Regions from separate parts of the Homo sapiens genome. Here region 2 is linked to region 1. Evidence: promoter capture Hi-C in human tissues and cell types (Jung and others, 2019). All regions are on one chromosome and are shown on one strand. Each heading gives the region's core, a stretch centred on a gene start or on the middle of the fragment in contact. The rest is flanking DNA. Distances are from core to core; before and after follow the strand shown. Region 1 holds the start of IGIP (IgA inducing protein). Region 2 overlaps UBE2D2 (ubiquitin conjugating enzyme E2 D2).

Region 1 (3,699 bases), core at 586-3,085:
AACATTTGTTGGTTAATAAAATATCGACAGTATTACAATCTTACAATATTTACAGTAAGAAAAATCTAGAGTAATATATACCTTTCACAGCAGGATTCCTTTTTTTAAAATTTCTTCCAGTTTGGGATTGTGTATACACAAAAAGCTCAAAATAAAGCAACTCTGCAATATAATCTTAAAATAATGGCTACTGGGGGAAATTCTATCACAACCATTGAAAATAATGGTGACTTCTCACGGAGTCTGTGGCATCTGAGAACCCAGTTAATTAACCAAAGTCTTGCTCATATTAGCCTCAGTTACCCAGATTAAAGCAGAACTCCGGCCTTCCCTGACTGCTGAAAACCCAACAGATTTTCTCAACATGCTATAAGGAAAGAGGAAAAATTGGTTTCAGCTCACACCTCATGGCTGGAAGCCTCTGGAAGCCTCCAGCCAGTGCACACTCCCCAACTTATGCTAAAAGAGGGCCAATTTCATCCCCACAGCATCACAAGAGTCCACCCTCCAACCACACAGTGCTCTGACACCAAGCTCACCCATTCCTCAACTCTTGTGCCTTAGGATAACACATGAACTTAGCCCACATAATACACACCAGCGTCTTAGAGACTTGAGACCAGGGCAAAGAAACAGACTAGTGTAGTTTGCACTGAGATCAGTAAGAAAAATGGGAAGTGATGCACATTTCCAATTAGAATGACAAGAAGAAGACCCACATCCCTAAACTGGAATTTGGCCAGGGCATCAGAGTTAGCACCCCCTCTCTGAGTACCGCTAGCGATTAGGATGTGTGCTCTGGGCCTCCTCTAAAAGAGAGCATCTACAGTAAGTAACACAGTATGGGACATTAGTTCAGTGACGACTGCCAAGAAAGCAGATACAATTCTTGAATCTGGGGCTGTCTACGGCACCTGAGGTCAATCATCCAAGCTGTGACCTGTCCCAACCCTGCTTACTTTAAGATATCTGATGGGCACAGAGCACTCAGGGATATGGCTGCTGGCTACTTTGGACTCTAGATCTCACAGGTAATCAACAGGTATCTGGGATTGAATTAGCAAACTGTACCATAGCTCCTTAAACAGACATTGTCAAGTCTGAAATCATGTCAAGCATGAATCTTCACTGTCAGGTCAGTAATCAAAGTGGGAGTCTTCCCACATCAGCCAAGGTTATTTTGTCAGAACCTTAGAGGAGTTGGACAGTTTTTCATGTTGCAAGTGATTGGTTTACTTATTTCAGTCAAGCTGGATTGGCAAACCAGACTGATTTATTTAGTGAGCTTTGTTTTTTTGATTCTTATGTGTGTGCTAACCCAAAGCTGTTGTATTTGGGCTAAATACACTGACAGAGAAAATTCAAACGACAAAAGTTTTCAGCAAACTTCTGTGGCATTTTTTCTTTTTGGAAGTAAATGCAAGATCTAAAGGTATTTCTACCCAACAACGTCTGTTTAAGTGTTTAATGTTATTTCCTTTTTGGTCCTATACAGAATGCTATGACTTCTATATAGGTCTGAATGCTGCTCCATGTAGATTCCTTCTGTATATCTAAAAATATATACTTTTCAGTAGTTCAATACATGGTTAATCTTCCCACAGAGGAAGATTTTTGTAATCACATGTTGCAAAGTAGAAAACATCTCCTTTCTAAGAAAGGAAATATACTTTCCTATTGTACACTTTTGAATAAGCCCAAAGGCATGCACCAAAAATCATTAATAAAACTAATACATGCAATAAAATGGTGTAGAGTTAGACTTAAAGTGCTGCTTCTCAATTTTTTTTAATTTGAAGAAGACATTTTGTCAGTTGTAGACTCAAAAATCTTTCCCCCACCCACCCTCCCCACCCCATGGCATTAAGAGAGAAAAGTAAAAAGTATGCATAAATCTTTTAACTATGCTTTACATGGGGGAAAGAACAGATGTATCAACTATCCTATATATCAACTGGATTCCCAGTTTTAAATAAAACCAATATTTACTGGTAAAAATTGTCAAAGCGAATACACGCAAACAAATGTTACTAGTAAATAAATGTTCTACATAGAGAATAATTTACTTTGGTTTTATGCGCCTTCTCAAAAATAACACTAGTGTCCCAACGTCACCAAACTGATGTGTTCCAGCAAAGTTGTAAGGCAAATCTTTTTTTCCCTAGTGACATCTTGTTTCCCAACAGACAAAACTAAAATCTTTTGGTGAGGAAGGGGTTAAGATAATGGCTAACCCCTTGGCATCCTGAGCATTGTGGTTTATCAAACTCTACCCTGCTAGAAATTGTCAGGCACCCTGACCCCTGCCTTGAACCAGGAAGGCTCCCATGTCTAGAGATGCCCTGACTCCTTATAAATAGCTTTCAGAACTTTGCTTTTTTCCCTTCTCTCTGGTTGTTATAATGTCTAACGAAGCTGGTTGCAATGTCACATTTTGCTAGTAGGGGCCACCATCTAACAATAATTCCAATATGAAAGGTTTTAAGCCAATAGTTGGTTCCTAATTTTATCAACGATTTGCACTAAAATTCTCTACAATTTACTTAGAGCAGAGATCTTTAACTTGGGTTTCAGAAGATGTGTGATGCCCCTGAAGTTGTATGCAAAATTATCCAGGGATGGGCATTTTTTTTTTCTTGGGTAGAGGATCCATCACACTGTCATCAGATTATCAAAGATATCTGTGACCCCCAAAAAGGGTTATAGGGACTTAGAGGGATACCCGTAATTCATTTTATACCAGGACTGGGAAATGGGGGCAGAAAACTAAAAATGGCCTCGAAAAAGGCCAGGGACAAATTGCTGATCTTTTCCCTTTATTCACATTGGGAAAATAAGTGCTTCAAACTGGAAAAATCATTAATTAAGCTGGTTAAACTCCATTAAAAAATAATCAAATCGCTTTCTAAATTTTTTTCATTTTCGATATGTGGTAAATTTTGTCTCCAAGAAAAGGTTTGGAGACTGAATTTTTCTCTTTTCCTAAAGGAAATTCATAGATAGAATGCTGAATATCATCCACATTTAAAGATTTGACAACATAAAAGTTAGATAACTCTTAATGATGTGAATCTTTAACTTATGATTTTGAGTAAAGGATTATCTAGAATCAAATATACACTTATTAATCTTCATTTCCCAAAATTGGTCCATATTTAGACAACTACCTGGCACAATTTCACTAGATAAACCTAAAATCTGAACAATGGAAGTTAAACTTCTACCCAAAGTAAAAACAAAGCCATAAGATTCCACAATTGAATTGGCCACAAACATTCACACTATGTTATAAAGGACTTTCTCATTTCAAATACATCACTGAATGTTCAACAGAATTTGCAAACATAAGATCCAGAATGACTAGCAAAACATGCTAAGAGCATGTCAAAAAGTAAAACACCACCTCTCCCCCCCCAATCTGGAAACACACTCAGGCATTCCAAAAATAAACCAGATCTGAAAAGAGGCCTCTCACTTGGTTTTAAGTATGAGGTGTGTACAAAGCTATGGGAAAGGGAATATAAAATGAAATAACCAAATAACTTACAAAAAATAATTTTAGCCAAAAACACATCTCTCTGTTCCATTGATAAAACTATCAATTTTTAAATTTTTTTGCAATTCTGAACACTGTGTTGCATAATATCACCAAGACAAAAAATATGTTCACAGGTACACTTTTTGTTATTTTCTTTCTAG
Region 2 (3,699 bases), core at 702-3,201, 560 kb after region 1:
TTACAGGCATAAGCCACCGCACCCAGCCTAAGCAATTTTTTAAAATACAGTACTGTTCAGCGTTACAACTACTTTCTTTAAGATCATGCTTCGGTAACTTCCCAATCTCAGACATTTTCAAAGTGTATTGTCAGTCTACAGAGAAACTCAAAACATGAAACAGATCATAATGGAAGAGTAATACATAAACTTCTACGGGATCAATGTATTTACAAAACTGGTTTTCCCAAGACCTCACACAAAACCATACAAAAGGCGGGGCACAGTGGCTCACGCCTGTAATCCCAGCACTTTGGGAGGTCGAGGCGGGTGGATCACTGGAGGTCAGGAGTTTGAGACCAGCTTGGCCAACATGGTGAAACCCCGTCTCTACTGAAAATACAAAAAGTAGCTGGGCATGGGGGTGCATGCCTGTAGTCCCAGCTACTCGGGAGACTGAGGCAGGAGAATGGCGTGAACCCAGGAGGCAGAGCTTGCAGTGAGCCGAGATTGTGCCACTGCACTCCAGCCTGGGCAACAGAGCGAGACTCTATCTCAAAAAAAAAAAAAAAAAAAAAACTTAGCAAATTGGCTGGGTGCAGTGGCTCATCCCTGTAATCCCAGCACTCTGGGAGGCCAAGGCGGGCAAATCACCTGAGGTCTCAAAAAAAAAAAGCAAGTTAATTAGAATTGTATTTAAAAACTACTTAAGGCCGGGCACGGTGTCTCATGCTTGTATTCCCAGCACTTTGGGAGGCCGAAGCAGGTGGATCACAAGGTCAGGAGTTCGAGACCAGCCTGGCCAATATGGTGAAACCCCGTCTCTACCAAAAATACAAAAATTAGCTGGGCGTGGTGGTGCGAGCTTGTAGTCTCAGCTGCTCGGGAGGCTGACGCAGGAGAATTGCTTGAACCTGGGAGGCGGAGGTTGCAGTGAGCCGAGATCATGCCACTGCACTCCAGCCTGGGCGACAGAGCAAGACTCCATCTCAAAAACAAACAAACAAGAAAACTTAATCTTACATAAAGCATTACTTTCAAACTTTTAAAAATACAGAAAGTATTGTTTAAATGACTTAATCTTTTTACACTCCTGATTACTTAATGAACCCCAATCCCTGGTTACTTTAATCCACATACTAAACTGATGTCGACCAAAAATGCGTATTTTGTTGTTCTTTTTTTTTTTAAGTTGAATCGGTTGCCAAAAAATCTGGATTTGTGGCTTCTCTTTTTTTTTTGAATGGAAGATATTGCAACACTGGGCCCACAGATTTTAGCAATAGCAACATTTGCAGGGAGCTGGTTAGCAGTTGCCCTCATCTGATAGCACATGCATTTTCTAGCTCCCTCAAGTTCTCTCTGCTCACTTTGGTACCTGCCTGGCTTTTATAGACATCAGAGTTTGAAATCTTTTTGTTTGTTTGTTTGTTTGAGACAGGGTCTCACTCTGTTGCATAGGCTGGAGTGTAGCGGCTTGATCACGGTTCACTGCAGCCTCTACCTCCCAGGCTCCCGAGATCCTCCCACCTCAGCCTCCCACCTAGCTGGGACTACAGCCATCCACCACCATACCCAGCTAATTTTTTGTATTTTTTGTAAAGACCATGTTTCGTCATGTTGCTCAGGCTGGTCTCGAACTCCTGAGCTCAAGCGATCTGCCCACCTGGGCCTCCCAAAGTGCTGGGATTACAGGCGTGACCCACTGTGCATGACCCACTGTGCATGACCTGAAATCTTTATTTCATTGAGAACTTTGTCTTGAGACGCCTTAAAAGAAGCTAGCCATAGGCCGGGCACAGTGGCTTACACCTGTAATCCCAACACTTTGGGAGGCCGAGACGGACGGATCTCCTGACGTCAGGAGTTCAAGACCAGCCTGGCCAACAGGGAGAAACCCTGTCTCTATTAAAAATACAAAAATTAGCTGGGCATGGTGGTGAGTGCCTGTAATCCCAGCTACTTGGGAGTCTGAGGCAAGAGAACTGCTTGACCCTGGGAGCCAGAGTTTGTAGTGAGCCAAGATCATGACACTGCACTCCAGCCTGAGCAAGACTGCCTCAAAAAAAAAAAAAAAGAAAGAAAAAAAATCTCTATCACAGAAATAGATCAAGTGATAATCCTGGCATTACTTTGTTTGAAAGCTATGTATGCCAAACGTTATCTGCAACTAGTAGGACACCATTAAAATGTACAATGCACTATTACTGTTAAGAAAAGCTTTTAGTATCCAACTCTGGTCAGTCTTCAACTCCTCAAAGAATCAAGATATTTATTTAGCCTTTTACCCTTCCCAAGAATAGAGAAATTAACCAAATACTTCAACATTACAGCACTCTAAGAGCACCAAAAAGCCTCCTACATCTGTATAGCAAAAGTAAAGAAGAAAAACAGGAAGCAAGTCAGAAAGGTCTCCGATCAGCCAAGGAAACCACACAGTTCACAGAGCACATGAAGCCCTCTTCAGTCAAGAGCCTACTGGATCTTATTTTAGACACAATTTTAATAAGCTCTGTGATCTGGTTTCTTAGCCCACAACAGATGAGATGCAGCCAACTGGAAAAGGGCTGGGGGTGGTGCTGCTAGAGGCAGGCACTCAAAGCATCAAAATCAAGGCTGAAGACCTAAAAAGTCAGCAGAAAACCTTAAAACATAGCAGGGTGGGGCCATGTGGTGTAGATACCAACAATCCCAAAGGATCCCAAGCCCTGCCCAGAACTACACACAATGTTCATAATGACCCTCTTTGCTATGCTCTGCTTATAGTATAGGTCAGGGGACCTTAAGATGTATATCAAAATAAAGTCCATCAAAAGCTTTTTCCAAAAAAGACATGGCATTTCAAAGACTGCCAAATTCACAGACATGAATAGCGTCCCTCTGTCAAAGAAACAAGATATTGAATTCCTGAAGATGTCACATGTCAAATGTAGTTTTTCTTAGAAAAATCTTATCAGAACCCAGATGTAGCAACTCATGACATTTAAGTCAAGAAGGTATTTAAGTAGAATTATTTTTTCAGGGAATGATAATTGGGAAGGTTCAAGATCAATTATAGAAGCCAAGCAATGGGGATTCCACTGCAGACACATTACTAGGACAGAAGATAAGATAGAACTGATCTTATCCATGCCTAGGAAGTCAGCTATTCAACTTAAAATTGTGGTACAAAGAGTTTGGAAAAAAAAAATTAATCTCCATTTTGTTTTCACAATCTTTTTGAGTGGTATACCAAAATAAACTTCATTTTTCTTATCACTAGCTGTCTCAGAGAAGTCAAGCCATACTTTGTGAAGAGCTCTAGGGAATAAACTAGGGGAAAATGGTTAATATTGAATTCTAAAAGTTCAGGCCAGGCCAGATGACGTGGCTCACATCTGCAATCCCAGCACTTTGGGAGGCCAAGGTGGCAGAACACTTGAGGTCAGGAGTTCAAGACCAGCCTGGCCAACATGGTGAAATCCCGTCTCTACTAAAAATACAAAAATTAGCTGGGCATGGCGGCGGAGTGCCTGTAATCCCAGCTACTCCGGAGGCTGAGGCAGGAGAATCGCTTGAACCCAGGAAGCGGAAGTTGCAGTGAGCCAGGATAGCACCACTGCACTCCAGCCTGGGCGACAGAGGGAGACTCCGTCTCCAAAAAAAAAAAAGTTCAGGCCGGGCACGGTAGCTCACGCCTATAATCCCAACACTTTGGGAGGCTGAGGCAGGTGGATCACC

What was found. The method cuts DNA at HindIII sites, captures the fragments that hold promoters and counts their contacts. A contact is called where the count stands out against the background at its distance.
Region 2: a fragment that was not itself captured here is called in contact with the fragment with the promoter of IGIP in region 1 in 1 of the 25 tissues and cell types used here (hippocampus).

What each region holds. Positions count from the first base shown.
Region 1 is chr5:140,124,073-140,127,771 of GRCh38, reverse strand. It overlaps IGIP (IgA inducing protein), which reads right to left and starts at 1,835. Exons shown (of 1, transcript NM_001007189.2): 1 at 1-1,835. PURA (purine rich element binding protein A) reads right to left here. Exons shown (of 1, transcript NM_005859.5): 1 at 2,153-3,699. The HindIII fragment of the contact is 10,247 bases long and covers 1-3,699 here.
Region 2 is chr5:139,564,389-139,568,087 of GRCh38, reverse strand. The region is part of intron 1 of UBE2D2 (ubiquitin conjugating enzyme E2 D2); the gene reads right to left. Among named protein-coding and RNA genes, the nearest start is that of UBE2D2, 4.9 kb to the right of the region's middle. RefSeq lists enhancers at 1-90, 2,354-2,493, 2,684-2,783. The HindIII fragment of the contact is 5,297 bases long and covers 1-3,699 here.